Regions from separate parts of the Homo sapiens genome. Here region 1 is linked to region 2. The links are contacts of gene promoters, found by promoter capture Hi-C in blood cells and fetal thymus (Javierre and others, 2016). All regions are on one chromosome and are shown on one strand. Each heading gives the region's core, a stretch centred on a gene start or on the middle of the fragment in contact. The rest is flanking DNA. Distances are from core to core; before and after follow the strand shown.

Region 1 (4,539 bases), core at 1,528-4,027, 150 kb after region 2:
GCACAGAAATAAAATATCATCCAAATCTACCTCTTCTGGGAAATAATATTGCAGTTGCTCTGTGTTTGGAAGTTAGGGCACAACCTGGTAGATAGATCAACTATTCCACAATCATGGAACACTGAGAAATGAACTTGACTCTAACTACTAGAAAAGTAGCCTAAGCTCACATTTACCTTTTCCCTGAACTCACCACTTTGTACAAACCATGATTATTGTGAATTTTAAGATTATACCACCAAGGCTTGATTATTAAGGGACAAATTCTTTAGTAAGTAGATAATCCAATCCTTCAAATTTCTTCTTTTCTAACCCATCAGCTGTTAACCATTTCATTTTTCTTTAGTGCAATTTTTACCAGTTGTGGAGATGGGGCCAGAGGGGGAAATGTGTACAAGGCATGAACCAGAACGTCAGCTCAAATCAGAGGGCATCCCGTGGTGTTATCTCCACCCCAACCCTGCATATACAGAAACCGTGATTATGAGCAGCCGCTTCCCCTCTCCCCACCCAAGTTCAGGGGCAAGGTGGTACAGAAGAGGAAAGGGGGAACCTGACTAATTACAACACTCTGTTGAGAGCTCCAATAAAAGTTTCACTGAGATCAACAGTTTGCAGTTTTCATTTACCCAGGACTTTCTCACTCCCTCTTACTCTGTGGTAACCCAAAACTGGAGATTACAGACCCGCTTTCAGCTTATTGAGTTCAAAGGCAAGGTAGGGTACTTGGCTTGATTGGCAGTTTGGAATGCTCTCCAAAAAGGCCCACTTTCAGGATTAAAGGGACACTCCATTTAACAGAATAGAAAACATCTTGTTACTAGAGAGTGAAGAATTTCAATCTAAGTGTAGGTTCAATAAACATGAATATTCAGCAATTACGTAATTCCCTGCTGTGTTAGTAATTTGAGGGTATAAGTACATTCTTGAAGTGAGAAGAGCCCCTCTTTCATTGAAGAGCATTAGAAGATTGGGAAAATGCCTTCTTAGTAAAATATGAAGTGGTAAGCACCTCCTAACCCCTTCAAATTTAAACACTCCTACAATCTTCATAATAGAGATCTACAGTCTTCAAAGTAGAGATTTGATGACCCCCTTTGGAGGAGCGTTTATAGAGGGGATGCTTACACTGAGAAGGGGGTTGAAATCTAAAGTCCCATCCAAAGCTAGGAGTCTATAAGTTACTATTACAGACAGGAATCATGACAGCATGCCTTTAAATTAGAGATTCTACAATGGATTCTCATATACTGCTGCATGTTCTCCTTACAAATCCCTGTAGTAATCAATACAGCATCATACCAATACCTGATAAACTTCAAATCCATTGATTTATCTACTCTAATTCTCACAGGCACCTTGTCAGGCAGTTGTAATTTCCATTTTACACATCAGAACATTAGGAATCAGAGAAGTGAGTAACTTTCCCAATGGCACACAGTAAGTAAGAGGCAGAGTAAGGGCTGAAACTCAGTTCTTTTGATGCTGAATGCAATGAAACTCAGGAATTTGTGTCTGTATTTCACATGAGGGTGACCACGACCTGGCATAGCAGAGTTGTAAAGCCATTTGTTCAGGGTTTCTGTGAAATAATTTACTGTGAAATAAGTAAATTATTTCACAGAAGAGAGTTACTGCGTTTCCTGATAAGTACAGTGAAAGCTTGCTTTTGAAATTTCCTTTGGCCCAATAATAAGTGCATTACAACGTTTTTTAGTAAATGTTGATTTAAGTGGGGAGTTAAAATTAATCACTTGAATCTTTTTTGAGAACATCTATTACCTTTTCACCTTGTTTTTCAATTTCTTCATAATAAAACGCATGCAATTATGAAAAGTTTAAAGAAAATATGGGCGACTGAATATGCTAATCACATCAGCCGTAAATACAGATACAGACTCTGTTGTATCACCAAAATACCCTTATGCAAAAGGGCAATAATTTTCCAAAAATACTCTTATGCAAAAGGGCAACAATTTTCTGAAGTTTTAATTAGTAAAGTACAATAGAAGGCCAACAAACTCTGACATTATTTTTTCTGGAGCTAAAAACAAACAAAGAGACATGTTAAACTAACTTTAAAAGCCACCTAAGTTGCCCTCTCCCTGAAGGCATCTGAAATTGTGGTGGTGAGGAAGAGAGAATGACATGCGGATTCTTTTTTTCAATATGGATTTCTACTTCACAACCAAATAGCATGCTTTAAAGCTCAAGGTTTATAAGAAAGCTCTGTCGTTGGTTTCCATAGTTTTTCCAGCCCTGATGTGTACTGACTCCTCCAGGGCAGCAGAGTTGGCTCCTTCTCCTCTCTCCTGATGCCCCTCTTCCTTCTCTCTCCCCCTGGGGATTGCCTCTTTTCTGGGTCTTTCTGACTAACACTCTGTCTGTACTATTCTAACACTTCAGCAAGGTTCAGTATTTTAAAGTCCCAGTGTTTCTAGGAGCCCTGAAATTTTTGCTCCACAAATACTTTGAAAGGTAAGCCATTCCTTCATTAATCTGTTCAAAAAGCACTTACTGATGGATACCCTCACTGTCCACTCACCCACTCCTAGGATAAGATGCAAACTCTGGTGCAGACCAGCGAGATCTGCTGCAACTGCTCCCCCCGCCTTTTCACTCCACCCGGGAACCTCCGGCCTCTCCGCTCATGTCCAGTGTCCTCTCACACTTCAGCCCTTCTCCCATACTGCTTCCCTCCTCCTAGCATTTCCCCGGTTGCTTCTCTCCTTGGCGAATTTCCATTTCTGTCTCCAGCGCTCATGCAAATGTTACCTTCCTCCTGAAGTTTCATCCTAGTCTCTCACAACACCCTCATTGTTCACGTCCCTTCGTGAAAACAAAGCTACCATATTACATTGTATTTCCTTCTTGTGTGAAGGTCTGGGGGAAGACTGATGCTGTGGGCTGAATTGTGTCCCCCCCAAAAATGATATGCTAAAGTCCTCACTCTCTATACCTGTGAATGTGACCTTATTTGGAAATAGGGTCTTCGCAGATGTCATCAAGTTAAAATGAGGTTATACCGGGTTAGGGTGGGTCCAATCCAGTGACTGACGTCCTTATAAGAAGAAGGAGATTTGAACAGAGACACAGATACAGAGGGAGAAGGCCGTGTGATGATGGAGGCAAAGATTTGCGTGACTGATACATCTACAAGCTAAGGATGTCAGACTGGCGGCAACCTCTAGAAGCAAGGAGAGAGGCACAGAAAATCATTCTCTCTCAGAGCCTGGGGAAGGAATCAACCCTGCTGACATCCTTCAGACTTGTAGCTTTTTTTTTTTTTTAGATGGAGTCTCATTCTGTCACCCAGGCTGGAGTGCAGTGGCATGATCTCGGCTCACTGCAACCTCCGCCTCCCGGGTTCAAGTGATTCGCATGCCTCAGCCTCCCAAGTAGCTGGGATTACAGGTGCCCACCCGCCACCATGCCCGGCTAATTTTTGTGTTTTTAGTAGAGACGGGGTTTCACCATGTTGGCCAGGCTGGTCTTGAACACCTGACCTCAAGTGATCCGCCTGCCTCTGCCTCCCAAAGTGCTGGGATTACAGGCATGAGCCACTGCGCCAGGCCAGACATGCAGCTTTTAGAGCTACGAGCGAATACATTTCTGCTGTTCTAAACCACCCAGCTGTGGTGCTTTGTTATGGCAGCCCAGGACACTGATATAGTTGGTATTAACTTCTGTATGTGCTCATCTTCCCAGTTATACCCACGAACTCCTGAAAAGCAGGGGCTGTGGTGCTCCATCGTTCCTCTCAGACCTAGCATGATGCTAACACAAATAGATGCTCAACTCATTTTGGCTGAATGAAGAAACATGCTTAGCATCACCCTTCTGGATTTAGTTCAGTGGATCCTGAAGAGAGTCAGACTCCTCTCCGAGTGAGAAAGCTTATGAACAAGTTGGAGACATAACAGTAGTTTAGCATCCCAAACAATGAATTATAGAAGACAAAGAGGGTGCAGCAAAGTGGGACAGAATGTGTCAAAAACACTGGAGATGGGCTGGGCGCGGTGGCTCACGCCTGTAATCTCAGCACTTTGGGAGGCCGAGGCGGGCGGATCACGAGGTCAGGAGATCAAGACCATCCTGGCCAACATGGTGAAATCCCGTCTCTACTAAAAATAAAAAAATTAGCCGGGTGTGGTGGCGGGCGCCTGTAGTCCCAGCTACTTGGGAGGCTGAGGCAGGAGCATTGCTTGAACCCAGGAGGTGGAGGCTGCAGTGAGCCGAGATCACGCCACTGCACTCCAGCCTGGGCAACAGAGCGAGACTCCGTCTCAAAAACAAACAAACAAACAAACAAACAAAACAACAACAACAACAAAACATTGGAGATGGAGTGTAAGAGAAAGTGGAGTACCAAATGGGTTGGTTAAGTAGGTTCGTTCAGAATATTCTGTGCTGCATTTTGAAACAAGTGATGACTAGGTCACAAGAGGAGATGTCATCTAGGTTGAGGGATTGAGGGAATGAGAGCAGCTGTGTGGGGAAGGTGAGAGTAACAGAGCAAGCAAGCAAGAAGGTGAGGCT
Region 2 (3,981 bases), core at 299-2,798:
TCAAAGTGTGACAAGACTATATCCAGGCCCCGCCCCAGGCCCACACACTCTATCTCTGAATGTTAACAAGGACTCTGCATTGAAAATCCCCGCTCCACACTCCCATGGGGACTCCTGTGCACTTTCAACTTTGAGAGGACAGCACTCTTGAGTGGAAATCCAAGTGCCCAGTGTTGTTTGTAATCGATTTGGTCACCTACAGAATTCCTCCCCCTTCACCTCAATTACCTCAAGGATCTCTGTATCACCCCAGTGTGTGTGTGAGAGCTTTGAATTTTAGACCCATCAGTCTCAAAGGCAGAGTATAACAAGAAGTAAGTCCAAAATGCACAGGCAGACTTCAAGGAGGAATCACCCAAGAAAAGAAATACCTGCATTCTGGTTCCCTCCTCTCTTCCTTTCAACACCCACGGGCAAATAACTCATCAATCCCAGGAATCCAAAACTCCTTCCTTCTCAGGGGGCTGGGTGGACTGGAGACAGGCTTATTTCACAGCTGAGACTGGGGCTACCCATCTCCCAATTCTCCAGGAGAACTAGGATATTTGTCTCCCAACTCAGTTAACTGTTAATACAGTATGTTACATAAGCCCCTTGGATAAAAAACAAGGATTGAGGGGGAAATATTAGATAAAGGAATTTTCTTTTACAGTTCATGGTATAACAAATAGAAGTTTGCTAAGAGTTTCAAATACTGAATATATACTCGACCCCACACTTCCTCCCCAATTTCCCCATAACCCTTGCAGAAAATCAGCAAGATGCTGTTTAAAAACACCAAAAAACCATTGAAATAAAAATGATATCTAGGCCAGAGTTCACAAATTGGCAGGCCTGCAGGGTGATTTTGCCCAGAGAAGTTTTGTTTAGTCTGCAGAGGTGTTGTTTTTAATTTGAATTAGTTGCCAACTTAAAAAAAAAAGTCTACAATTTTTACATAAAAAACCAAGTAACCAAATTCTTCTGCACAAGTACAGGTTGTTAGTACAAGGTAACAATTGCCAAAAGCTCAGCGGCAGCTGTGTCCTCCAGATGAGTCCCCGGTGGCAATAGAGGCCCACTCCAGAGCCAGCCCCCCACAACCCCGTCAGTGCTCACCCCTTGAGCCCTGTGTAACACAGGCGTTCGTGTTCCTTGGCCTAACCAAGGAATAAACAGCAACCAGCCATATTTTGCCGTTCTTAATGGTGACTTTCAGAGCAAAACGGGAAGGGGATCAGAACCAGACAAAGGGACCTTATTTTTTCCCCTGCATTTCATCTAGAAATAAAATGACCTCCAAGTAAATACTGGTAGGCATCTGGAATGGACCAGGCCTGGGAAAGGTATACTCATATATTCTTCCCACTCCCGCCCCATTGTGGCCCCCACACCGATCCACCTAACACAAGATAGATAGATATGAAATACCATGGCCACCATCTTGCATCCTTTGGTAATATTGTTGACAACTACCCCCCTATCCCAGAGAAACTTGAAATAAAGACAGGCCCCCAGCACATCTTCTATAAAAGAAGGCCACAAGCATCCGAGATTCTAGAATACCACAGATAAAGAGGTCAGGTTTGGAGTGTGCAGAGAAGGTTCCCTTCACACACTTTTTTGACAAATGAATGACTCTGGACAAGTTACTCCTGATGCCTCAATGCCTGTAGAAATGTAAAAACCACCTGCAGTGTAACCAGGAGATTTCTATTTCAAAAGCAGATGTACAAATAAGGTCCTTAGCTAATCTCCTACTGTTAAAACATGTTAAAATCAGATAAGTAATATTACCTTGTATAAATCAGCAATTGTCCCTTATATGTAAGTGAAATGGTAATAACTGAAGTTCAATTCTATTAATAGTAGGCAGCATCCAATGAGGAGTCAGGAACCTGCCCTCAGTGAGGGACAAGACTATCCTGGCAAGTCATTCTTCCTCTAGTTCTGTGAGACGGGAGAATACCAGTTACCTCTCCCTTACCTACTTTATAAGGATGTCGTAGTCCATCAACCATCTGGAGTACCTTGGGAACAGGGTGGTATATAAACAGTCATATTCGTATTATCATTAGTCTTGCCTCACAAGCTGCCTCAATGTAATGATAACTTTTTAGGAACCTGGTAAATAAGACAAACTGCTTCCCCTCTCCCAGTGAGAAAGGATAGGAGTGAGGGAGACAATTAAGGAAGAAGCCCAGATCAACACCCACCTCTGTTCTGATGGATACTGGTTTTCAGGCATCATCTTTGGCATCTGCAGGGGCTGATGTGGTGGTCGGGGGACCGCAAATGTTTGCTGCTGTGGTCCAGGCTCTGGAAGCGAATGGGGGGCGGGGGCGGGGCCCACACCTTGAACTGGGCCAGCTGCAGGGGCATGCCCTGAGGTGGGCAGAGTTGCCTGAGGTGGGGGAAATAGGGGATTCTGATGGGTGGGTGAGAGGGGGGTTGTAGGAGGGGTTAATGGCTTGAACCCAGAGGGAGGCTTCCTATCATAGGCACTGTAAACAGAAAAAGAGAAGGAACCATTAAGCTGAAATGAAGCCATTAGCATGGTTACCAGGTCCAGCAGAAAGCTAGTTTGCAGCCCATTGTTGCCAGGAAATAACAGCATTAACATAGTTAAATCGCTCGTAGCCCCGAGGGGATATTTGTACCTCTGAAAAGTGACAAACACACTGCGTCACAGGGACTTGTTTAACACTTCTAGTGATTTTTCTCAAGGATAATTTTAGCCTCTGCTTCCGGTTTCCTTTTTCCCTCCTTCTAAAAGAATTCTCCGTGTATGCCTGTGTAGGGTGGGTGGGTGAGGGGAGAATGTATGTTTGCCAGGTGTTCTCTGGTCCCCTCTCCCAACTATTTCCAGGGTTCCCAGGAATTAGTCAGAATATGTGTTGAAGGTCTGTTTGTGCTGTGACATCATTTGAATTAACAACTCTTCTCCTCCCCCTTTCAGGCAAATCTATGTTTATCTTCTAGAGCAAAGAATGATTTAAAATTAAAGCTTCATTCCTGGGGCCTGGATATTCTTAAGTAAAGGGCACAAGCTTCAAGACTTTTTCATATATTCTGATTTGGAGATTACTTCTCTGGTGCTTAAAGTTCACATTAACATATGATAGACATGAAGAAGTATATATTACCTGCCTCAAAGCCACAGATCAAGTATCCCAGGATTGAGACTCTTTCCCTAGAAGGACTGGGTACCCTATGAACTTAGTGCTCTGTAGAGCCACAAGGTTTTTAATGGTTTTCTTTTGTGTGCAGTACAATGATCCCAAGGGGACTGGACTACACCCGGAGGATGACACTGCCATGAAAGAAGGATATGTTTTACCACAGGGTCTGCTGGGTAAGTAACACTGGGAAGGAACATTCAGCTTGATGGCTACTTCCAGAGCCTTTCTGGGCAGCCTTTCTTCGACTCCTCTTGCCCACTCACCAATAGTTGTAGAGGCACTTTTCTCCATAGTTAGCACCAAGAGCCTGCTCATGGCTACAAGACGACAGCTCAGAGGAGGGGCTGTGCAGCTCCCGTTTGATCTTGGTTGGAGGTGGGGCATGAAGCACCACTGAAATCAGAAGAGGGATGAGAGGGGAATAGAGAGAGAACAGCTGATTAACAGGGAGCACAATGCTTCCTTCTGCAAACCTTCTAACTAGCTGATTGTTCTTGGAACTCATGTCAAGTCACATGTCAGAAAAAGCAAAACGCTTAAACACACAACCTCCCATCCAAAGCCAATTAAATTCTTCAAAGTCAGAAAAAGTATCATCATCTGATACTTTTAATTAGCCAAGTCTTTTTTCCCAAATTTCTTTGGTCATGGGTCTTGCTTTCCAGAAGCTGCAAAATCCTTAAAAACCTTGCAGGTAATGGGTCTCCACCAAAAATGCAAGTGGCTGCAGACATGAAGAATTTTGTTTCCAAAAAGGACAAAACGACCAAAAATGTGTTGGTAGACATTACCAACACATTTAAGCTTATCAAAGGCTTAA

What was found. The method cuts DNA at HindIII sites, captures the fragments that hold promoters and counts their contacts. A CHiCAGO score of 5 or more calls a contact.
Region 1: a contact is called between a fragment that was not itself captured here and the fragment with the promoter of ETV5-AS1 in region 2, in 3 of 17 cell types (M1 macrophages, M0 macrophages and megakaryocytes). The highest score is 8.2, in M1 macrophages.

Annotation. Positions count from the first base shown.
Region 1 is chr3:186,225,970-186,230,508 of GRCh38, forward strand. The region is part of intron 20 of DGKG (diacylglycerol kinase gamma); the gene reads right to left. Among named protein-coding and RNA genes, the nearest start is that of ETV5, 120 kb to the left of the region's middle. The HindIII fragment of the contact is 2,234 bases long and covers 1,661-3,894 here.
Region 2 is chr3:186,077,622-186,081,602 of GRCh38, forward strand. It overlaps ETV5-AS1 (ETV5 antisense RNA 1), which reads left to right and starts at 1,549. Exons shown (of 2, transcript NR_046594.1): 1 at 1,549-1,720; 2 at 2,939-3,326. ETV5 (ETS variant transcription factor 5) reads right to left here. Exons shown (of 13, transcript NM_004454.3): 6 at 3,425-3,554; 7 at 2,196-2,483. LOC124909470 (a long non-coding RNA gene) reads right to left here and starts at 2,188. Exons shown (of 2, transcript XR_007096205.1): 1 at 1,411-2,188; 2 at 1-593. RefSeq lists a silencer at 1-141. The HindIII fragment of the contact is 3,249 bases long and covers 1-2,984 here.